2 separate regions of the Homo sapiens genome follow, and region 1 is linked to region 2. The links are contacts of gene promoters, found by promoter capture Hi-C in blood cells and fetal thymus (Javierre and others, 2016). All regions are on one chromosome and are shown on one strand. The core of a region is centred on a gene start or on the middle of the fragment in contact, and the rest is flanking DNA. Distances in the headings are between cores, read along the strand shown. Region 1 overlaps CCDC15 (coiled-coil domain containing 15). Region 2 holds the start of PKNOX2-AS1 (PKNOX2 antisense RNA 1).

Region 1 (6,075 bases), core at 3,521-6,020, 310 kb after region 2:
CCATCAAAAAGTGGGCAAAGGATATGAACAGACACTTCTCAAAAGAAGACACTTATGCAGCCAACAGACACATGAAAAAATGCTCATCATCACTGGCCATCAGAGAAATGTAAATCAAAACCACAATGAGATACCATCTCACACCAGTTAGAATGGCAATCATTAAAAAGTCAGGAAACAACAGGTGCTGGAGAGGATGTGGAGAAATAGGAACACTTTTACACTGTTGGTGGGACTGTAAATTAGTTCAACCATTGTGGAAGACAGTGTGGCGATTCCTCAAGGATCTAGAACTAGAAATACCATTTGACCCAGCCATCTCATTACTTGGTATATACCCAAAGGATTATAAATCATGCTACTATAAAGACACATGTGTTTATTGCAGCACTATTCACAATAGCAAAGGCTTGGAACCAACCCAAATGTCCATCAGTGATAGACTGGATTAAGAAAATGTGGCACATATACACCATGAAATACTATGCAGCCATAAAAAAGGATGAGTTCATGTCCTTTGTAGGGACATGGATGAAGCTGGAAACCATAATTCTAAGCAAACTATCTCAAGGACAGAAAACCAAACACCGCATGTTCTCACTCATAGGTCGGAATTGAACAATGAGAACACTTGGACACAGGGTTGGGAACATCACACACCAGGGCCTGTCGTGGCATGGTGGGAAGCGGGGAGGGATAGCATTAGGAGAAATACCTCATGTAAATGACAAGTTAATGGATGCAGCACACCAACATGGCACATGTATACATATGTAACAAACCTGCACGTTGTGCACATGCACCCTAGAATTTAAAGTATAATAAAAAAAAAAAAAGAACTGAATTCCTTGGACAGAGAAAGATAGGACCAGATAATATTCTTTTTTAACATTTAATTAAAAATATAAATAAATTCAAACCTATGGAAAACTTCAAACATATACAGAAGTAATCAGAACACTATAATGAACCACCATGGACAGATATGGATACCTCACTTTAGCACTATCAACTCCTAGCCAATCTTGCTTCATCCGTAACTCCCTACTTTACCTCATTCTTTTATTATTTAAGTATATTCCAGACATCAAATACTTTCATGTATAAATGTTTCAACATGTCAGATGAATGTTTGAAACTCTTCCAACTCCAAGATCACATGTTTCTATAACACCAACACGAGAAAACTGAGACGTGTACTAACATTCAGAAAGTGAATTATGTGTACCATTTACCCAACCAGTTCTAGATAAACTAAGGGAGTTCGTGCCTGAACTGTCTCATTGTCTAGTTTCACGGTGACATCTAGTGGATAAAAACTGCAACAGAAGTGGTAAGATCAGAAAGCATCTATTGTCATGGAGTCATATGGACAAAGTTTACAGGCTCAAAATAGTTAAGTCACTGAGCATTCTTCAGTAGTTCATGTCCTTTTAAAAAAAAAAGTGTGGGGGTATTATAAAAACTTTAAAAAATCTTGTGACATTTAAGGTTTTTCATAACCTGATTTCCTCCTCCTTATCCAACCCCATTTTTGGTTATTCTCCATTATAAACTACCAATTAGAAAGGTTCCATTACTTATTCCCAAATACACCTGGCTCATTGGAGATTCTAGGCTTTTTTTTTGTTTGGGTGGTTTTTAAGAAAAAATTATCTCGGCCAGGTGTGGTGGCTCACACCTGTAATCCCAGCACTTTGGGAGGCCAAGGCAGGCGGATCCCTTGAGCTCAGGAATTTGATACCAGCCTGGCCAACATGGTGAAACCCCATCTCTACTAAAAATACAAAAATTAGCCAGTCATGGTGGCAGGCACCTACCCCAGCTACTCAGGAGGCTGAGGCAGGAGAATCAGGAGATTCTCTTGAACTCAGGAGGAGGAGGTTGCAGTGAGCCAGGACTGCACCACTGCACTACAGCATGGGCAACAGAGTGAGACTCCGTCTCTAAGAAAAACAAATTCTCTTGAATTTACCAATACAAAATGTGTAGTTCAAGTCTATCTCTCCCATGAATTCTTCCCCTACTGTTTCCTTAAAAATTTCTGAACTCCCATAGCACAACTTTATTGCAAAACACAGAAAATCTCTCTATATTATTATCTGATACAATGAGTGGTCTATTAGTTTTGTATTTCTACCTGAAAATATAAACCCATGGAAGGTCCTATTTTACATTTCCTTAGTATCGCTACAATCCATAACAAACAGCATAGGCAAATACTGCTGACTGATGAGTTCTATTTTTGTATTAAACAGATGAAGTAAAATCCTCACTACAGTGGGACTAACAGCTACAAGCACCACGAAAGCAAGGACTGTGTCTGTCTTAAGTCAATGTTCTATTCCTTGTACTTTATGCAGTGCCTGGCTCAATAAATATTTGCTAAACAAATAAAAATGATTATTACAAACTGAACAATGACAAGAAAGAGTCAAATAGTTGTGGACAAAGAAAAAAATTTTAATAGTAGTTCAACATGATAATGTGTGCTTCTAAACTTTTCCTATTTATACTAATAGCACAATTAAATTTTGACCAAGTATGTTAAGCAGTAATACAGCTTTTATTTTCACATACTCATAATTTTCCATATTTTCTCTCTTCCTCTCATTATTTCTAGTAATACATTTTAAATAAGATGAAGAACAATTACTGAAGCAGAGTTGAAGACTGTATCAACTGGACAAAAGCTCAGGTATACTAAGGTGGGGGCTAAATGGACAGAGTCAAGCAATGTGAATGGATGAAATCTACTCACAGTGGTTAATTTTTAAATATTAGGTATATAAAATGAGTCATTAAATAAAAATTACATTTTTCCAAAAACTCTGGATATGTTACGAATTTACTATGTATTATTCTTTAACCTACAACTATAGATTCATTTATTGTGATAATCAGATTAAAAAACAAAAATAAGAAAAATGAGACAAAGATAAATAATAAATGAAATGCCACCTATGTATACTGAACTTCTTTGCAACGAAGGTAAGAATTATTTCTCTCTGTAAATTACAAACTAATAGTAGCTTGCCTAGAATATAATTTCAATATAACTTGGAAAATCCATGTTCTTGACCTAAAGTGCTTTCTAATAGGTTTTGAATTCTAGCACTTTGGCACTTTTCTTTTTTTTTTTTTTTTTTTTTTTTTTTTTTGAGACGGAGTCTCGCTGTCGCCCAGGCTGGAGTGCAGTGGCGCAATCTCGGCTCACTGCAGGCTCCGCGGCACTTTTCTTTAGATAATTTTAGAGTATCTTACCAAACACAAATGAATTTAAATTTAAAATTTTTAAAAAGCATTATCCCACTATTCCCCACTTTACAAAGCTAAAAAAAAAAAAAAAGGGGGATGATTATCAAAAGTGAAGCTGAGTGTGATAACTCTTAATCCCTACCTCATACCCTAGATGTCATATTTATAGTTTAGGGGATAGGGAAAATATCATAGACATAAAATAAAAAGAACAGGTACTTACAGCCTGGGCTTGTTGTTGGAATAATTCGTTCTGATTCTCTTCATCCTCTATTCCATCCCCAGGCATCAGGGAAGGAGGTAACCTAGAACTTCCAATAGCAACATTCAAATTGTTTGGAAAAACACTTGTCCTTTTGGAAGTTAAGTGTGTTGCTGAAGACTGCATGGCTATGGAGCCTTCTTTTTGTGCCTACACGAAAGAAGAAAGGGGGATAGTAACATTCTACCCCAATCCAGAGCAATCAAATAATGCCTCTAAAGCAGTTCAGAAGATTTTAAATTGGGGTGGGGGGCAGGGGAGAGGCTTTAGCTGGCAGAGAAACTAACATTTACCAGGCACCTCCCATGTGCTAATAATTTAGGTTATCTCATCTAACTCTCACACAATCCTATGAGAGAAGTATCATATCCTTATTTTATGGATGAAGAAACTACAATCAGTGAAGTTAAGTAATTAGCCAAAAGTCAATAGCTAGAAGTAGCAAAGCCAAAATTCAAACTCAAGTCTGAACCCAAAATTCTGACATTGCTTTTAACTACTTGGTAAAAGCAAAAAATTGAGTCAGAACACAGGAATAAAACATGGTTTCTCTACAAAAAAAATTTACTGTCTTCACTAGTTAATTAGATTATATTAGGCATGTAATCAAAGGAAAGCAATTCTGTTACTGCCTAATAGCTTATCTCATAACACACATATTTTCCATTCAATCTTTACTCAGGCTCACTTTTGAACTTACTCTTTCATAAGACTTCTGAAGCTGTTGCTTTTTTCTCAACCTAATTTGTTGATTTACTCGGTATTTAACTTGTTTCTGAAAATGTTTCAAAGCTTCTTGTTTTTTTCTTAGCTGTTCCTTTAGTTCTTCTTCAATTAAATATGCTGATGTCTTTAAAGATGAAAGACAGAAAATGAACTTAAATGTTAGCAGTTTTGTCCATTAGGGCTGTTTTAAACACAAAACAGTCAGGATAAGGATACAATCCTGAAAAAAATAATTCCATTCTGTACAAAAAAAAATGGAATGTATGAGTATCAAATCTTAAATTTTTTATTGAATTAGAACTAACGATGTCTTCATTAAATCTTAATGAACCAAATAAAACCTAACACGTTACACATTTTCTAAAATGGAGTAAATAGTCAAGACACACCAGGTTACTTACCACTCACCAAATATGTCCTATTGTTAAAATGTCTTCATATTTGGCATTATGCTCCATTTTTAACCTGGCATGCCCTTCCTTTCATCTCCACCTAGTAAAGGCCTATTCAGTTTTCACAACCATTTAATACCCACTCCCCAGTACCTTCCACAACACTCTCTCTCTAAGCCCTCTTATGCTATAACACCTCTCATTTCACCAATGTTAACTGAGTATAGTACTTCTTGACTCCCCTACTAGATTATGAACTCTTTGAGGACAGGATATGTATTCAATTCTCCTTTATTTCCCCTACGGCATCTAGTACAGAGCCTTCACTATAAGGGTAGTCAATATATATTTATATAATTGCTCAATTCCAAAACATATTCTAAACCAGGGGTGTCCAATATTTTGGCTTCCCTGGGCCATGTTGGAAGAACTGTCACATAAAATACATTAACACTAGTAGCTGATGAGAAAAAAAAAAATCACAAAAAAACTCATAGTGTTAATTAAGAAAATTTATTAATTTACATTGGGTCGCATTCAAAGCCATCCTGGGCCACATGTGGCCCATGGCCGCATGTTGGACAAGCTTGTTCTGAACAATCTGGAACACTTTATCCCATTTGAGTTCTTGATCTGCATTTATCTCCTCTAAGTGCTTTGAATAATAATCATAGTCATCATCATAACAGCACTTATCATTATTATGGATCTATCAGGTGACAAGTATTTTAACTACTTTGTAGCACTCTATCCTCAAAACCACCTTTGGCAGTAGGTATTCTTATCCCTTATGTTACAGATGAGGAAGCTGGAGTTCAGAAAGATTAAGTAATTTTAATATAGCTAACTAGTAGCAGAATTAGAAGTTTCTGACTCCAACAATTATGTTCCTCTCTACACTGCTTTTCTCTTGACTATGTCTCTCTTTCACTAGGAATTTTCAAATTAAATAAAATCATCATCATATCTCGTACCTATTCCTTCTAACTCAGTGATTCCAACTTCTAATTCTGAAGGGTACCTCAGATCATTTTACAGGCTGTCATTAAATTCTCAAAATCAAATGCATTCAAATTTCAATTTAAGTTAAAATTTCCAAGATGTCTATCCCATAAACTACTCTAGTGGAGTGTACAAGTGTCAAAGAACAATTAGGTAAAATAATTCCAACGGAGAGATATATACGTAATGAAGCCTGAACAACTGACCCAGCTTAACTCAAGCCCCAGACAAGTTTAAGCCATTCGGCCTCTTTCTTTTACCTCCATTTTCTCTGCTCCTCTTTTACTCCACAAGATTACAAGCCAGGTCATAAAGAAACTTCCACCTCTGTTCTTAGAGTGCTCATTCTGAAGGAAGTCAGCACCATATAAAAATTCAGACTACCCTGAGATTACCATGCTGTGAGGAAGCCCAAGTTAGTCAAACAGAGAAGCC
Region 2 (5,601 bases), core at 2,204-4,703:
GGATTCCTCCCAGGGGAGAGAGGGCTGCTGGTAGTTGCAATCTTATCTGCGAGGTTGTGCTAAACTCACAGGAATTGGTAAATCCAGGAACACTGAGTTATTCAAATACTAGCCAAGAGTTCTTAAAACCTGAGGGGGCAATGGCTCTGATAGATGGATTCCTTAAGATAGCCAGAAAGACCATTGAATGGAAAAAGGAATGAGCAGAGGCGATGGTGGAATATTCAGAAACTGGATATTTTCATCTTCATTCCTTGTCTTAGTCACTGTTGTATCTCCAGTGCCCACAACAACACCTGGCACATATGAGGCACTCAATAAATATTTGTTAAATTAATGCATGCATAAAACCCAACTTCCAGGAAACTCTTTGCTACTGTGCCCCAAGCCAATCCTTGTGAGAACTCCCCAAAAGTCCAAGGACAACCGCCCCCGACCCCGTGAGGATGTACCAAATGTCCTACATCTAAATGTCCCAGCATCCTTTTGGATGAATGCTACCAAGTGCACTTGAAGAGACCTGGACCACCCTTGCCCCATTCTATTGAAGATAGAAGTGAGTTTCCTGTTTCATTTCCAGACTCACTCTCAGCCTCGCCCTGGACAGTGGGTACCATCTCCATCCATCAACCAAAAGCACACAAAGAAGAAACAGCTGAGAGTCCAAGAGGGCCTCAGTCTAGGAGACTTGGTCGTGCCTCTGCCAGTGTCAGCAGTCAGGCTGGATTCCTCAGCCCTGGCATTAATTGTAGCCCCTGTGCTATGATTACAAAATGGAATTAAATGACATGCCAAATTAAAGAGTTATTTTTTCTAATATATATTTTGCATAGGATGTGTTTGTAACAGCATTAATTATTTACACTGCCACAGAGAGAAAGCATAAATATAAAGAGAGAGATCAGATGGTTCCTGTAGGAGAAATAAAATGAGCATTTCCATCAGGATGATGAATACCTGCGGTCTCACTTTGGGGCTGGGCCTAGGGGGAGGTGGAGAGAGGGGGACATCTTGAGAACAAATCTGACAAGCGTTATCGAGGTTTTTGAGGAAGGAATATGTTAAAAATGAAAGTGAGTACAGAAAGTTTAAATATTTAATACCTGCATTAATTCTAATTCACACTTTCTTTATTTTTCAGATTAAAAATTTACAAGAATTCCCATCTCTTTCATCCTTCTTCCTCCCATGAGACACTTTGTGGTCACTGTTCCAGGGACCACCTTTGGCAGCATCTAGGTAAAAAGGGGCATGAGAACAGCAGCCCCCCTGCCCTCCACCCCACCCCCATGGCACCCTCCCGCCATGGGCATCTCCCCCAACTCCCCTATGAGAAGCCATTGCTGTCGGGCTGCTGGCGCCAGAATGACTAATGGGACCAAAGCCATTTCCTGGCCTCCTCAGCCCCCACCCCAGAAAGGGTCACGGAATTCTCAGAGATGATGCAGCCAACTTGTGGGTTTAAAGTGCTTGTCCGAGCCCAGATCTCACAGGCACAGGCAGAATACCACCACTGAACTGATGTCTTCTTGAAACAAGAGACTTCTGTCCCACACAGCCCCAGGCCCCCCTGCCCTTCAGAAGCTTTTATTCTAAGGCCAACCAGACCAGCTTTATATGCTTTCAATAATATCACTGAAAGCCAGCATTGATTGACTTGGAAGCAAGGGAGAGCTAACTTCCCGAAGTCACCAACACCAGCTCCCAGCTTCAGCCCTGCCCCAACCCCAGCATTAAGCAGGTGAGCAAACTGCTCTCCTACTAAGAACAGCTTATACATCTGAATTCCCTTACAAAGCACTTTCCCATGCCACGTTTGACCCCAGAGTCCTGTGAAGCGGTCAAGGAGCTGTTATCAGCCTTCATTTTATACAGGAGAACACCCAGGTCATGTGACAGACCTAAGGTCTCCCCATTTAATTAAAATGTTTCCACTGTTACAATGCAGCTTCTACAGCACGCGGTTCCCAAAATACTGCATGTGAAAGGGGAAGGGAACATTGGGTTGAGAGATGCTTTTAACCCCACTCCCTGGTTTCCAAGTGACCTGTCTGCGTTGGGGGCCGACGTTTTCCGAGATGAGAGCAGGGAGGGGCAGGTGGGCCAAAGGACTGCATCTGCTCCCATGAGGGCCCGCTGTGTCCTTGCTCCTGTTTTCCCTGAGATTCTCAGTGACCTCAGGCCAGAGACCCTCAGAGGAGAGTTGTTGGCAAAGTTTTCTCAAAGCCCCAACATTTCTGTGACTCCCTGAGTTTTAAGTTGTCAGATACTGTGGCATTTTCCCCCTTCTTCTCACACCCTACCATCCTCCCATCACTTGCCACAAATTCCTGCACAAAACACCTTCCTAAACAGTGTTGATGAGCGCCTTGTTCTCATCAGGCCTCTGATCGAAGACAATTCCCTGACTCCATTCCTACTCTTCCTCACAGATCTATCAACCCAAAAAGTGCCTATAAATCAGCAGAGAAAACACACACACACACATGCACACACACACGCGCACACATGCACAACACATGCACACACACACGTGCATACACACACACACAGGCTTCCTCCATCAGAAAGATGAGCAGGAAATCTCACCTGTGGTAGAAATCTGAGCTATCAGTCTGGCGCTGGGAGATGTTTGGGGTTGTTTGTTGTTTTTACTTCCAGATACCTGCTGGAGTCAGGCCATCCCTTTAAACGAGAAGAGCGGAGCTAGAAAGCACCCCAGCTTAAGGCCTGGAGAGCAGAATCCCTCTAAGCAGTAGCTTCTTCCTCTCCCTCACATAATTCCACAGCCTCTTACTGAAAGGGCAAGGAAAGAGATGGCCCAGCCAGGCAGAGGGAACACCTGAATGAGCTCAGGAGGAGAGGCTGCCATGATAGCTCCTCCCTCTACAAGCCTTCAGGACAAGCACATCCTTCCTGACCCTTCCATTCACTCCAGATACGAGCACTATCCCGGGACAGGACTTAGATCCACGTGGGTACGGGAACACACACATGAGCACAAGGGGAGGAGTTTGGTAGAACTGTCGTTCCAGCTTGACCAAACGTCTACCTATGCTTCCCAACCTCACAGGTTGTGAAATTTTCAAATGATGGAGGGAGGAAAGGACATAGCAGAAGAGAAGGTGAGTTAGCCAAATGGAGATACCGATCAGGGTCCGTGCTTTGGCTGGTGACGGAAACAGACAATGATAGCAAGGACAAAACCCCTCCCTCTCATGGCCTCTAAACAGCCTCTGTCTCAGAGAAATCAAAAGGGAGATTTTTCCACAGAAAAATCAAAAGGGAGATATAGTGCTTGCCGAAGGCACATTCCTAAGGCCCTAGCACAACGTGGAGCGCATGATAGGCATGCTTGTTCTTTCTCCTCATTTCCCCCTGTTCTTTCCTCATTTCCTTGTGCTAAGTAAAATGACTTTAGAACCTGGGTGGGAAGTAGGGAAGAAGCCGTGAGTCCCGTCCTGACCTCCAGACCTTGCATGTGGATTGGTTTTGCTGCTGTAAGGAAAGGGCTCAAGGACAGCAGCTCAGCATCCTGTGGCTGCACACGCAGAGTGAGAGGGACATGGTGGCAGGGCCTATCGAGGGTCTGCGTGGCCAGGAACGAGGAGGTAAGGAGAAAACGTTCTCCCTTCTTACTGGGAGGAGCTCTTTGCAAACTGAAATGAGATTGTCTTACTGCAGAAGCCTACTTTTATTTTTAAAAAGTTATTTTCACAAAAATTAATACCCCCTTCCTGCCTCCACACATCCATAATCCCACCCCTTCAGAAAAGCAGGGCTGTCTTCCAGCCTCTGTCTCGCAGGCATTTTACTAGTGGGGAGGATGAAAGGTTCAAGAATCAAGGACATCACACTGGCTAAATGCCCCCAAAAGTCAGTGTAACATCTCCCATCTCAGAGGCATCTTCTTGGAAATGAAGCAAAGCAGGAAGGCAAAGGACTGGGGGTGACTGGCCGTGTGACCTTGGGCAAGTGACTTAACTTGTCTGAGCCTCAGTTTTCTCTCTCCTAAAATCAGAGAAATCTTACCACTGACGGGGGAGGAGGTGGTGAATTCCTCTCTGCTCGTGCTTTCTGAGCTACTCTTCCAAGCCAGCCATTGTCACATTTATCATATCATTCAACTCTGATGAGAACCCAGTGAGAAAGGAACTATTCCTTTCTTTGAGAAATTTGGTAAGTGTGCATAGGGGTGAAGTGACCTGCCTCGGGGCAGAGACCTGGCCAGTTATGGAGCTGGGGGCCCAGGTTTCCTCCATGGCTGACACGCTTTCCACCACACCACAGCTGTCTCCTGATGGGCGGGTGTCATGCACACTCAGGGCCTTTGGGAAGTTTGAGGGTTGCGGAATGTGAGGTGTGACTACTCTGAGAGTTTAGACGGTGAGGAGAGGAACGCCTATTCCTCTTTAAGCTCCCCCCTTCAGGATCCTCCTGATGAGATCCTTGGTGGCCAGAATTTTCTTCTCTCCTTGCTCTAGAGCCCTTACCCAACCCTGTGAAGCAGAAAAGCCACAGATGACCCGCAACCCTCTGGGGACCATTGGGGTGGGGGCTGAGCTGAGGGGCTTAGACCCCTCAGAAACCCGGGTGACAGCCCCGCACTGCCCCTGCCTCTGTTCAGGCTCTCTGAAGGTCTGGGATGGAGAAAACCCAAGCACAACTGAGCAGCCAGCAGGGTGAGGCGGCAGCAGAGGCCATGGGGCAGAGAACAGTGTCAGGGATGCGTCCACTGAAGGAGGAGTGGGTCAGGTGTGTGGCAGGAATTGGCGTGAGCATCCTGGGTGCTGAAGAGGAACCTCGGAGAGAGAAGGGCCTTGGAACCTCTTGCAGAGGCCGGTGTTTGCCAGGGAGGTTTGTTCATTGAATCGGAAATCAGCTTGCCTTGGTCATACATGTTTAGGAAGCCCTAAGTTAAAGTCTTTAAACTTGTAATGAGCCCTGTAACTTTTTTTTTTTTTGAGACAGAGTCTCGCTCTGTTGCTCAGGGTGGAGTACAATGGTGCGATCTCGGCCCACTGCAAGCTCCACTTCCTGGGTTCACGGCAATCTCCTGCCTCAGCCTTCCGAGTAGCTGGGACTACAGGCGCCCACCATCACGCCTGGCTAATTTTTGTATTTTTAGTAGAGATGGGGTTTCACCGTGTTAGCCAGGATGGTCTCAATCTTCTGACCTCGTGATCTGCCCGCCTTCGCCTCCCAGAGTGCTGGGATTACAGGCTTGAGCCACCATGCCCGGCCATAAGCCCTGTAACTGTTTTAAGACAAGGTGTTCACACAGGCTTTCCCAAGCTGGCTTAGCTTTGGAACTTTCTTTACGCCCCCAGAGCCCACTCTGGGAAGTGCTTACCTAGAGCAGTCCTCCCATTTCACAGATGGGGCCAGGGGAGGATGGGAACCCGTGCAGCTTCTAAAATCGGCCGCCTTCTCGAGTCCCCCACATCCCTAGGGGGCTTAGAACTACTCCACACCTGTTCCCAGGGCTTAGAGAAATTGTGTCTGGCTGCAGCTGTGATGTGTGGAAGAAAGGACATCTGTCTCCTCCTTTTCAGGGGATGGGGGTAAAAGGAATGGGGGGTGGGGAAGGGAGAACTAGGC

The links. Contacts are between HindIII fragments. The CHiCAGO score rates a contact against its expected background, and 5 or more counts as called.
Region 1: a fragment that was not itself captured here is called in contact with the fragment with the promoter of PKNOX2-AS1 in region 2 in 1 of 17 cell types (endothelial precursors); the score reaches 5.4 in endothelial precursors.

Annotation. Positions count from the first base shown.
Region 1 is chr11:124,957,410-124,963,484 of GRCh38, reverse strand. CCDC15 (coiled-coil domain containing 15) reads right to left here. Exons shown (of 16, transcript NM_025004.3): 3 at 4,221-4,370; 4 at 3,482-3,670. Among named protein-coding and RNA genes, the nearest start is that of CCDC15, 6.2 kb to the right of the region's middle. The HindIII fragment of the contact is 912 bases long and covers 4,315-5,226 here.
Region 2 is chr11:125,264,650-125,270,250 of GRCh38, reverse strand. PKNOX2-AS1 (PKNOX2 antisense RNA 1) reads left to right here and starts at 3,453. Exons shown (of 2, transcript NR_187382.1): 1 at 3,453-3,611. The region is part of intron 2 of PKNOX2 (PBX/knotted 1 homeobox 2); the gene reads right to left. The HindIII fragment of the contact is 10,539 bases long and covers 1,587-5,601 here.